2 separate regions of the Homo sapiens genome follow, and region 1 is linked to region 2. Evidence: promoter capture Hi-C in 16 types of primary human blood cells and fetal thymus (Javierre and others, 2016). All regions are on one chromosome and are shown on one strand. Each heading gives the region's core, a stretch centred on a gene start or on the middle of the fragment in contact. The rest is flanking DNA. Distances are from core to core; before and after follow the strand shown.

Evidence for each region. Contacts are between HindIII fragments. The CHiCAGO score rates a contact against its expected background, and 5 or more counts as called.
Region 1: a fragment that was not itself captured here is called in contact with the fragment with the promoter of PTX4 in region 2 in 1 of 17 cell types (endothelial precursors); the score reaches 5.4 in endothelial precursors.

What each region holds. Positions count from the first base shown.
Region 1 is chr16:1,667,526-1,673,521 of GRCh38, reverse strand. CRAMP1 (cramped chromatin regulator 1) reads right to left here. Exons shown (of 21, transcript NM_020825.4): 18 at 5,329-5,560; 19 at 4,357-4,521; 20 at 2,713-2,858. Among named protein-coding and RNA genes, the nearest start is that of JPT2, 7.8 kb to the left of the region's middle. The HindIII fragment of the contact is 1,295 bases long and covers 2,857-4,151 here.
Region 2 is chr16:1,485,078-1,490,273 of GRCh38, reverse strand. It overlaps PTX4 (pentraxin 4), which reads left to right and starts at 1,330. Exons shown (of 3, transcript NM_001328608.2): 1 at 1,330-1,505; 2 at 2,304-2,958; 3 at 3,695-4,388. The coding sequence starts at 1,365. The coding sequence ends at 4,335. The HindIII fragment of the contact is 1,633 bases long and covers 1,147-2,779 here.

The DNA.
Region 1 (5,996 bases), core at 2,255-4,754, 180 kb before region 2:
GGACAGAGAGTGCCGGGAAAAGGAGGCCAGAGAGGGTGCTCCAAGGACTGGGACCTGAGCGGGAGGTGGGGTAAAACCCGAGGATACGTGGGGGACACGTTTCCATCATAGACATGAGGACAGGTGGGGGACACATTCCCATCATAGACATGAGGACAGGTGGGGGACACGTTCCCGTCACAGACATGAGGACAGGTGGGGGACACGTTCCTGTCATAGACATGAGGACAGGTGGGGGACACGTTCCCGTCAAGAGACATGAGGACAGGTGGGGGGCACGTTCCCATCACAGACATGAGGACAGGTGGGGGACACGTTCCCATCATAGACATGAGGACAGGTGGGGGACACGTTCCCGTCATAGACATGAGGACAGCTGGGGGCACGTTCCCATCAGAGACATGAGGAGAGCTGGGGGCACGTTCCCGTCAGAGAAATGAGGACAGGTGGAGGGCACGATCCCGTCAGAATCCCAAGGACATGTGGTGAGGGCACGTTCCCATCAGTCCTGAGGACATGTGGGGAGCACGTTCCCGTCAGAGACATGAGGACACATGGGGAGTACGTTCCTTTTTAAAGAAGCAACAGGCATGTTCCCTGAGACAGGAAGAGGCTTTGACTGAAAAGCACGACCAAGGTGGTGGCCATGACAGAGTGAGTGAGGCAGCACAGAGCTGAGGAGACGGAGGACGGGAGGGCCTCGGCACCGGGATCTTGTCCCATGAGCAAATACGTAGAATGTGCCGTTTTCAGCGCTTATTGTCTGCGTCCTGCTCTAGAGTAGAAGCCTCATGAGGACAGGGGCCATTGTTTGCACACAGCAGACCCTGCAGAAATATCCCTTAATGAACTGCATGACACTGTGAATGCAAGAAGTCTGGAAAATTCTGAATAGAGCTATGGCGTAAATGAAATTTTATGCTTTGATTATGGGAAATGTCAGACAAATTAAAATTTGTTTTCAAAAGCAGAGCAAAGAGTAATTCTCCTTCCCCTGTATGTCCATCAGCAGCTCCCACCCGTTTCATCCCAGGGCCACCCAGCTCCACCCCCGCCCCCTTCATGCTAGCCCTACCACCAGACCCTTTCATCCACAAATGCCTCAGCCCATCCTTCCAGATGACGAGGACCTGCTGAGAAACATACTCACGTTCTGAGTGGAGGGCTCTCGGGAAAATCTCATGCTAAACGCTGATCTGCTCTTTCTGAAGGTGAACACGTTTGCATTACTCGCGACGGGCAGCGTTTCACAAATACTAACTGCACCCTTTCTCTGCTACTCACTCCCAAGTGCCATCTGTTGCCCAGGATTTTATTAAAGGTGCAAATTCTGATTGGGGTGAGGCTAACACTCTGGATTTCTGACTCCAAGGGGCTCCTGTCACTGGGCTGTGGCCCGTCCTTTCAACAGCATGGCGTGAGCATGCTGCCTCAGGGCACGTACGCAGCGCCCATCTCCACAGAGCCCAGCACTTAGGAACATGCGCACAAACAGGGGAAGAGACAGAGACTGGCTTCTCGGGAAACATCAGAGTCCAAGGTGTGCCCTGAATAATGATTCTGGGGCCAAACAGGTTTGAGAAACGCCACACACTGTGAGATGGAGGTCTACGCTATTAATTGTGTCTATGTGTATATTTGGCTAAAATTTCCAGTCATATCATGGCTTGGCTTGGAATTCTCCAAAGCCTGCCCATGAGTTCATCATCTCAAGAGTCACGATTCACATTCGGATACTGGGTAGCGGAGGTGTCCGTGAGAAACAGCTGTTTTGAGCTTTTTTGGATCCAGGGTGTCCCTCAAGTATCTACCCACAAAATCCTCAAGGAACACCTGCCAATGTCTCAACATTGTGGGGACTAGATTCGGGGAATGCTGCTCCAGGACTTTCACATGGGCTAAGCCCATGCGGATGATCTCCTGGACCTGGAGTTCCCTCCCTGTCCATAGAGCCCTCACCCGACTGCCCACACACCTGCCACTCTGCACTTTACGTCACAGTGAAACGGGCCTGTCTTCACCCTGCAAGCCTGACCTGCCCACGAATGCCACACAAACCATGTGGTGGACGCCTTGAGGGCTACAACCAGATGGCCTGGCCAACAAAGAGGGACGCTGCATCTCGTCAAAAGTGGAGAGTCACAAACCACGTTTCGCCTTCCCCTCAAGAACCTGCCCCAGTGACTCCTCCTATCACTACCCTGGGCGTGGGAGAAGCATGAGGACAGCAGAGCCCATCCCAGTTCCCCTGCACCGCAGCTCAACATGACAGGGAGATGCCACTCAAAGGTCCTGCTGTTAGGATGGGAGCACTGACAACACAACTGCTGCCACCACCCCTTACTCCTCCCTCCACAACACTCCCCGCACCTCAGCACCTCACAGCCAGGGAAGGAGAGGTAACATCCCCACTCGGCTCTGGCTGCCTTCAGAGACCCTGCTCTGCGCCCCAGACCAGGGTTTCCAGTTCAGAGGCCTGCAGAGCTCAGCTATGACTAAGTCTGTCATTCTGCATGTGGGGACGAGAGCCGGCCCAGCGTCCCCAGATCTCTCCATTCTCAGTAGTCAGGGACCTGAGTGTGGACGTGCTGTCTCCTGTTCTTCTACTCTTGGCAAACAGCTCTTACTAACCCACAGGTGTGCAGGAGAGTGCTGGCAACCTCTGGCACGAGGGTTGGTGGTCAGGTGCAGCTGTGAGGTCAATGCACTCACCTCTGCAACGTCAGCCAGGGACCTGGACACAAATGAGTCCCGCGAGTTTCCATCCAACAAGCTGGGGCCAAGCAAGGAAGTGCCACTGTTGGTCCCAATGGGAGTCGGCAACATCTTCCGGCTCTTCTCTGGGGAGATGAAGCTTGCTGCGGAGAAAAGGCCAGAGGAAAACACCCTGAACCCTGCTTGGTCTGGACCAGTCCAGCGGAAGGGTCCTGAGGCTGGGGGCAGCCAGCCCAAGCCCTAGCCCCGGCCCCGGCCCCAATCCAGACTTGTGCGAAGAGCTTCCGAGGGACTCAACACGCCGTGACGAGCTCTTCTCGTTTAACAGGCCTTCGTGCATACAGACATGCACCTTGTTTTCCACGAGTCCCACGGTCTCCCACCCTCACTGCCATCCCCCACCCCCATCACGGTCTCCCACCCTCGCTGCCATCCCCCACCCCCATCATGCTCTCCCACCCTCACTGCCATCCCCACCCCCATACTTTCTTCTCTGTGACTAGTCTCATGCAGGTTGTTTCCAACTTTGCTTTTAATTTTTTTTAAAGGCAGGGTCTCGCTCTTGCCCAGGCTGCAGTGCAGTGGTGATCATGGCTCACTGCAGCCTCGAATTCCTAGGCTCAAGCAATCCTCCCACCTCAGCCTCCCGAGTTGCTGGGACTACAGGCATGCACCCCCCACACCTGGCTAGTTTTAAAATTTTCTGTAGAGACAAGGTCTCTCTATGCTGCCAAGGCTGGTCTCAAACTCCTGGCCTCAAGCAGTCCTCCTACCTTGGCCTCCCAAAGTGCTGGGATTACAGACATGAGCCACCACGCCTGGCCTGTTTCCAGTTTTTCAAGATTTACGTGTGACTTTCCAAACATCTGCACTGCTACATGAGACAAAAGGAAACGCCTGCAGGGTGCTGGGTCCCTCAGCACCTCCCAGACCCAGGTCGCCCAACTGGTTCAGAGCTGTCAGGCATGGTACCCGCCATGCCTGATGTGCCCAGCCACAAGCCCTGGCCCCGTACAACTGTGGGCGGGAAGACCCCAGACATCCAAATGGGAGCTCTCTCTGGGCAGGCAACAGCAGCAGGGTGTGCCTTTCCCTGATACACCCCCTTCCTGCCACACTTGCTACCCAGTGGGCAAACGGGCAGTGGGGGAGGAGGATGGACACGTCCTCTGAACTCTCCGATCTATATTCAAGAATGTGCCAGGTGGCAGCTGGACCATCCACTTCTGAATACCTTACTGACCACAGAAAGAGAAGAGCCAAGAGAGTGCCAAGACACCAGTTTCCTTTTCTCCCCTCAAGAGAACCCAGTCGGGAGGGGCCGGGCTAGCTGAACAGACTGGGAAGGCACACAGAACCCAGCATCTGGGGTCACGGGAATGTTCTAGGTCTCCATTGGCTTGTGGGTTACCAGGCTATACATGCTTGCCAAAGCTTGGTGAACTGTACACTAAAAATGTGTACATTTTCCTACATGTAAATTACACCCAAAAATATTAACTCAGAAAAATACAAACACTTGAGAAGCGAACAAGCCAACAGTCCTAGTGGGAGTTTGAGTAGAATGAGAATCCAGTGTCCCGCAGACCCCAGCCCCTGCTGCCCTGGAAAAGGAGATGGGAGCCCTCCCCATACACTCACCAAACAGGCTGCTGAGCGAGGAGTCGGTGGAGTCACTGGGGTACCACTGGGGGTCGTGGGTGGGAGAGGCGATCCAGTGTGGCTGGGGGCTGCTGGACGGGGAGGGAAGGCTCTTGGAACTGTCACTGCCATTCAGTTTTGCTGGAGAAAGAGGGACTCCTTCACCTGCCAACCAAGATCCCAGATCAGAAACGCCTTGTTGCGGGGTGGTGAACAGCAACTCACTTCTCCAGCCCACCACGGAGAAGGCAGCAGGGCCGCAGGGCTCTACCCTGCTGAACCAGATGGATGGCATGGCTCGGCAGGTAAGGAGCGCAGCACCGCAGAACAGCTCTGCAGGGAGGCAGGGCGCAGCGGAGTGAAGGCGACGGCAGTAGCCACCACGGGTTGCACATGAGTCATCTCACGGCACCCACAGCAGCCCTAGGAGCTGTACCTTATTCTCAATTTACCGCTTAGGAAAGGGAGGCTCAGCAAGGTGGTGAGCTGCCCAAGGCTACATGCTAGCACACTGTGAACTCATATCTCTCTCAGCCCACAGCCTGGGTCGCGCCAGTGAACAACAAACCACTGCCCCCAGGAGCTTTGTCCCAGACAGCAGGTGAGACCAAAGCCCACAGGGCCCAGCCCAACTGCTTCACAAGCTGTGCAAGACCCCAGGCCGCCTGCTCAGGTTCAAGATCAACTAGGAAAACACTCTGTGATCCCCAGGCTGAAGAGCACCTGGGGGCCATTCCACTGTCTCGCCTGAAGGTCAGGAGCAAGCCTACCAGGCCATCAGCTGCCTCAGGTCCCACAGGTACCTTATCCACCTGCAAGGTCCCTGCTGGAGACAGGCAGCACCTTGTAGGTGACAGGTTTTCAATTCGTAAAAATCACAAAACTGGAATATCCCCAGGAAGTGTGGCAAACATTGGGGCAGGAGATCAACACCTGATGACAGGAAGGGCTGTGAGGCCGCCCTGCCCTTACCGTACTGACCGGAGCTGATGGCGATCTCAATGATGGAGTCGCTAATGTGTGTGGCAGGCTCGCCCTGTGACAGCGCATCCTCAGGTGGGCCGGGCAGGGAGATGTCGAGCAGAGCAGAGACGTCTGGTGGAGACAGCCGGGTGCTGGAGCTCTCTGACGAGGACAGCGGTATGGAGAGGCCATTCTGGAGAGGGGCCTTGGGCAGCTCAGATAAGGAGAGAACAGATGAGCCCTGCTGGGAGACAGGTATTTTTCAGACACAACCAGGTCTATCAGAACCCATGACAAGGGAAGAAACACCAGCTTACTCTCCTAGCTTGCAGGCAAATCAATAGGGTGATGAGCGCTGCAGTCACCTCATCCTTCCAACTCAGGAACACACTCGGGGAATTTATTTCTCCCAAAAACACTCACTATGGCAGAGTCAGAAAGTCAGGCTGCAGTGGCCTGGACCTGCTTTGACTGCTGCCAGAAAGAGAGTGGGGGCTGGGGGAGTTACTAGCTGACAGCCTCCTCCTCCCAGAAAGCTGAGTTCTTCCAGAGCGCTAAGTTCTTCCAGAGCTGGGTCTGAAACAGCCCACCTTGGAGAGGGGAGGAGGGAAGTCTGAGGTGGCGGACAGCCATATTCATTTATCCACCCTGGGCAGTCGGCACAGCAGGTGGAAGAA
Region 2 (5,196 bases), core at 81-2,580:
CAGTCTCTGCCCCATCTTCACAGGCCGTGTCCTCTGTGCCTCCTCCTCTGTCTCTTGTACCCCTGTCATTGGCTTTAGGGCCACCTGGATAATCCAGGATGGTCTCATCTCAAAATCCTTCATGACATCCGCAGAGACCTTTTCCACATAAGGCCCTGCCTGGGGCTTATGTGTGTTTTTAGGAGGGTCTCATTCAAGCCAGTACACAACCTGTAACCAAAAATACCAGCCTGGCCCACATGGGGCAACCCCGTCTCTACTACAAATACAAAAATTGGCCGGGCGCGGTGGCTCATGCCTGTAATCCCAGCATTTCGGGAGGCTACAGCGGGTGGATCACCTGAGGTCGGGAGTTTGAGACCAGCCTGGCCCACATGGTGAAACCCCGTCTCTACTAAAAATACAAAAATTAGCCGGATGTGGGGGCACATACCTGTAATCCCAGCTACTTGGGAGGCTGAGACAGGAGAATCCGTTAAACCCAGGAGGCGGAGCTTGTGGTGAGCGGAGATCGCACCACTGCACTCCAGCCTGGGTGACAGAGCAAGACTCCGTCAAAAAAATTAATTAATTGGCCAGGCGCAGTGGCTCATGCCTGTAATCCGAACACTTAGGGAGGCTGAGGCAGGCAAATCATGAGGTCAGAAGTTTGAGACCAGCCTGACCAACATAGTGAAACCCCATCTCTACTAAAAATACTAAAATTAGCCGGGCATGGTAAAGCACGCCTGTAATCCCAGCTCCTCAGGAGGCAGGAGGCTGAGGAAGGAGAATCGCTTGAGCCGGGGAGGCAGAGGTTGCAGTGAGCTGAGATTGCGCCATTGCACTCTAGCCTAGGCAACAGAACGAGACTCCATCTCAAATAATAATAATAATTAATTAATTAAGGTGGCTCCCAGTCACATTTCCATTGCTTTACTGAGAGAGACGGGGCCTCCCAGGATGCAGCCGTGCACGGCCTGGGTGATGGGTGCCTGTGCAGACCTGGCTCTGTTGACTCCCCAGCCCCCGTCGGGTTCCCTGTCTTGCTTCGACTTCTCGGGAGCACAAGTCCATGTGCTCCTGTTAAAGCCATCGCCTCCTGCCCGCGGGCTTGCACCCAGCTGAATGATTCTTCAAAGAAACTGTTTGCATCTGTTTTAAGCTTGTCTCCTTAGGAACCTGCAAGTCTCAGAGCCCACTGGCTTGAAGGCAGATGCCTTTCATGGAGGCGGCAGGAAGAACCTGACATCCAGCCAGGGCCAAAGAAGGAAAACCACTCAACAGGAGAGCTGGGGGGACGAGACACAAGACAGACCCACGGAGCCACCTTCACCCTCTCCTGCGGCTGGAGGGAGACTGCTGGGGCCTTGCCGTCTCTCCGGATGGGTTGCTCGTGGAGGAAGACCTTGTCTTTCTTCCTTGTTTTTGTGCCTATATATCTACATGGGGCTTCATCGCAGGAAGCCGCCCCAGTGGGGCCCAGGAAACCGTTTTTCGAGAGGCTCCGTAGGCTGGAGGAACAGGCAAGTTATACCCCTGACATGGCGCAGTCGGGTTTTTAAATTGGCAGCAGATGGAAGACGGATGTTACAGAAGCAGATTGGTAAACATCAGGGCTTGGCGGACACGAACACCGCGTGTGACGCTCTTTCCATCCATGAAGATTATTTCACCTGCAGTTGGACACCAGGGAAGAGCTGAGCTGGGCTCCACTCACACAGGACACAAGCCTCATAACATGTGGGGGTCAGGTGGGGCCAGAGGCTAGAAGGGGGTCTGGAAGGGAGTCAGGGGAACTGGGGGCCATGGGGGCCGGGTAGTGTCATGGGGAGTGGAAACTGGGAGGTCACAGGTCCACCTTGTGGCAGTCGGTGTGAACGGCCTCCCGGACTCCCACGCGGGGTCCACGGACAGTTCCGGAGTGCTGTGGGCCTGTCGGGCCTGCGCTGGGTGCTTCCTGTTTGGGCCTCGTAAAGCACTCATGAGGCCACCCTGCCGTCCCCTGCTCACAGGCAGGAGCTGGAATCACGAGGGAAAGTGACTTGCCGGTGGTTATGGGGTGAGCGGTGGGGATCAGAGCCCCAGCTGTGGGCCTGGAGTCCACACCCCACGTGGTGCAGCTGCATGGCCTGGGGTCAGTCCCTGGCACCCACCACATCTCACGGCATCGCAGTGGGGATCAAATCGGTGGGCAGATAGCCAGTGCTGGCCGTGGCCCGGGCACGCGGCCGCTGCTCCCAACTTGAGAGGGCAAAGCCTTTCCCGTCCCGCCCAGCCGGCCCGGCCCGGCCCGCCCCATCATCACCGTGTCCTCCTTACAGTTCCGGAGATTCCAGGAGGTGACCTGGACACACCTGCAGAACATCGCCAGCAACTACAACGTGTCCTACAACGTTGACGTCCGGTTCCGGAGCCTGGCGGAAGAGAGCCAGGCTGTGGCTCAGGCAGTCAACCGGTCACAGGCCTCGGTGCAGGGGGAGCTGGCGCAGCTCAAGGCCTGGGTGAGGAAGCTGCAGCGCCGAGGCCGGAAAGTAGACACGCGGCTGCGGGCCTTGGACCTCACCCTGGGCGAGAGGAGCCAGCAGCGGGCCCGGGAAAGGAAGGCACACAAGGCCCAGAGGGACGCCCTGCAGGACTCACTGGCACGCCTGGAGGGCCTCGTCCACAGCCAGGGCGCCAGGCTGGCTGCTCTGGAGGGGCGGCTGCCCGTGGCCCACCCTGGCACTGCAGCCCTCGGGCCGGCCCTGGTCCCAACCCCAACCCAGCCTGAGGAGCTGGGCCCGACCTCCCTGAAGCTTCAGAGGGACAGGCAGGAGCTCCGAGCTGCCTCTGAGCACAGGGGCCCCCCACAGGACTCCTCGGCCCCTCTCCAAGGGAGGCGGGAGCCTCCAGCCTCAGGCAGCCATCGGGTACTCAGTGGGACTGCCCCAAAAGACCCTCGGCAGCAGGCATGGTCCCCCCAGGTGCCAGGAGAGAGTAAGTACCACAGGCTCCCAGCTCACGGCCAGGCTTCCCTCCAGCTCCTCCTTAGACCAGGCCCCCTGGAAAAGGCTTCTCAAAAGAGGTTCAGTTAGGGGCCGGGAGATGGGGAGAGGGTCTCGGATCATCGGGGGGGGTGGCCCACCGTCATCACAGAGGCTTTCTAAGGGGAGGCAGGAGGAACACAGTCAGAGGAGGGCGTGAGGGCAGAAGCAGAGGTGGCGGGATGCACAGACGAGGAGGCCCCACGCCGAAGGGTGCAGGCGCCTCTGGAAGCTGGAAAGGGCGGGAGATGGTTTCTCCTGGAGCCTCCAGAGGAACCAGCCCTGTCCACACCTGATTTGAGCCCTGGGAGACCGTGTTGGCCTTGTGACCGCCAGAAATGTGAAACACTAAACCTGCGCTGTTGTGAGTCATGAAATTTGCAGAGACTCCCTGGCAGTGAGGGGCGCTGGCTCAGCTGGGTGGGCCGACAGCTAGGGCTCCTAGCAGGACCCCGCCACTCCCGAGTACGGCCCTCATGTTCAGTCTTCCCGCCTGTGGAACTGGGGTGATCCCATCAAGAGAGTGAAGGAGACGCTGCAGGGGAGCCATCGGCAGGGCCAGCGCAGAGTCAGTGCTCCGTGAAGGGTGGCAGCCGGGAGTGGGAGGCCAGGCACCCACAGCACGTGTGCTTCTGGATGCTTCTGCTCGGCCTCCTGCAAGGGGTTGACCCTCCCTCCTCTGTTTCTAGTTTGCGGCGTGGGCCCCACCCTCGTTTTCCCAAACGCCTCCACCAGGAACGTGGTCTTCCTCAGCCCTGGTTTCGTCACTGCCCTGCGAGCCCTGTCCTTCTGCAGCTGGGTCCGCACGGCCTCCGGCCGCCTGGGCACCCTCCTGTCCTACGCCACCGAGGACAATGACAACAAGCTGGTGCTGCACGGCCGAGACTCCCTGCTGCCCGGATCCATCCACTTCGTGATCGGGGACCCGGCCTTCAGGGAGCTGCCCTTGCAGCTGCTGCTGGACGGCCAGTGGCACCACATCTGTGTCATCTGGACGTCCACCCAGGGCAGGTACTGGCTCCACGTGGATCGCAGGCTGGTGGCCACCGGCTCCCGCTTCAGGGAGGGCTATGAGATCCCCCCCGGAGGGTCCCTCGTGCTGGGCCAGGAACAAGACAGCGTGGGGGGCGGATTCGACAGCTCCGAGGCCTTCGTGGGGAGCATGTCTGGCTTGGCTATCTGGGATCGGGCGCTGGTTCCCGGGGAAGTTGCAAACCTTGCCATCGGGAAAGAGTTCCCGACAGGTGCCATCCTGACGCTGGCCAATGCTGCACTAGCAGGCGGATTTGTGCAGGGGGCCAACTGCACCTGCCTGGAACGCTGTCCCTGAGGCCGAGCCGCACGGGGGCTGAGGCCAGCAAGGGCAGCATGCCCCCATCCACATTCCGCCACCGCCCTCCCCGCCAGCACATTCTACAAAGGCCACCCCCACCCGTCCTGGCTTTGCACACCTGCGCCCTCACATAGGGGTGCCTATTCCATCCTGGGGAGTGGGGAGGTGGACAGGGAGCGAACAGAGACAGAGAGAGCCTGGGGTCAGGGTGGCCTGCAAGCCCATGTTTCTTCCATCACCACGGCATTCTTACTTCCTGCACTGTCTTCCTTTCTTTTTTTTCTTTTTTTTTTTTTTTTTGAGACGGAGTCTCACTTTGTTGTGCAGGCTAGAGTGCAGTGGCGCGATCTCAGCTCACTGCAAGCTCCACCTCCCGGGTTCACACCATTCTCCTGCCTCAGCCTCCCAAGTAGCTGGGACTATAGCGCCTGCCACCATGCCAGGCTAATTTTTTTGTATTTTTAGTAGAGAGGGGTTTTCACCATATTAGCCAGGATGGCCTCAATCTCCTGACCTCGTGGTCTGCCAGCCTTGGCCTCCCAAAGTGCTGGGATTACAGGCGTGAGCCACTGTGCCCGGCCCCTTTCTTTCTTATCTTTTTTTTTTTTTTTTGAGATGGAGTCTCACTCTGTCTCCTAGGATGGAGGGCAATGGCATGATCTTGGCTCACTGCAACCTCCGCCTCCCAGATTCAAGCAATTCTCATGCCTCAGCCTCCTGAGTAGCTGGGATTACAGGTGCCCGCCACCACGCCTGGCCCCTCCCTCCCTCCCTTCCTTCTTCCTTTCCCGTTCCCTCCCTCCCTCCCTCCATTCCTTCCTTCCCTCTTCCTCTTTCTCTCTCTCTTCTCTCTTTATC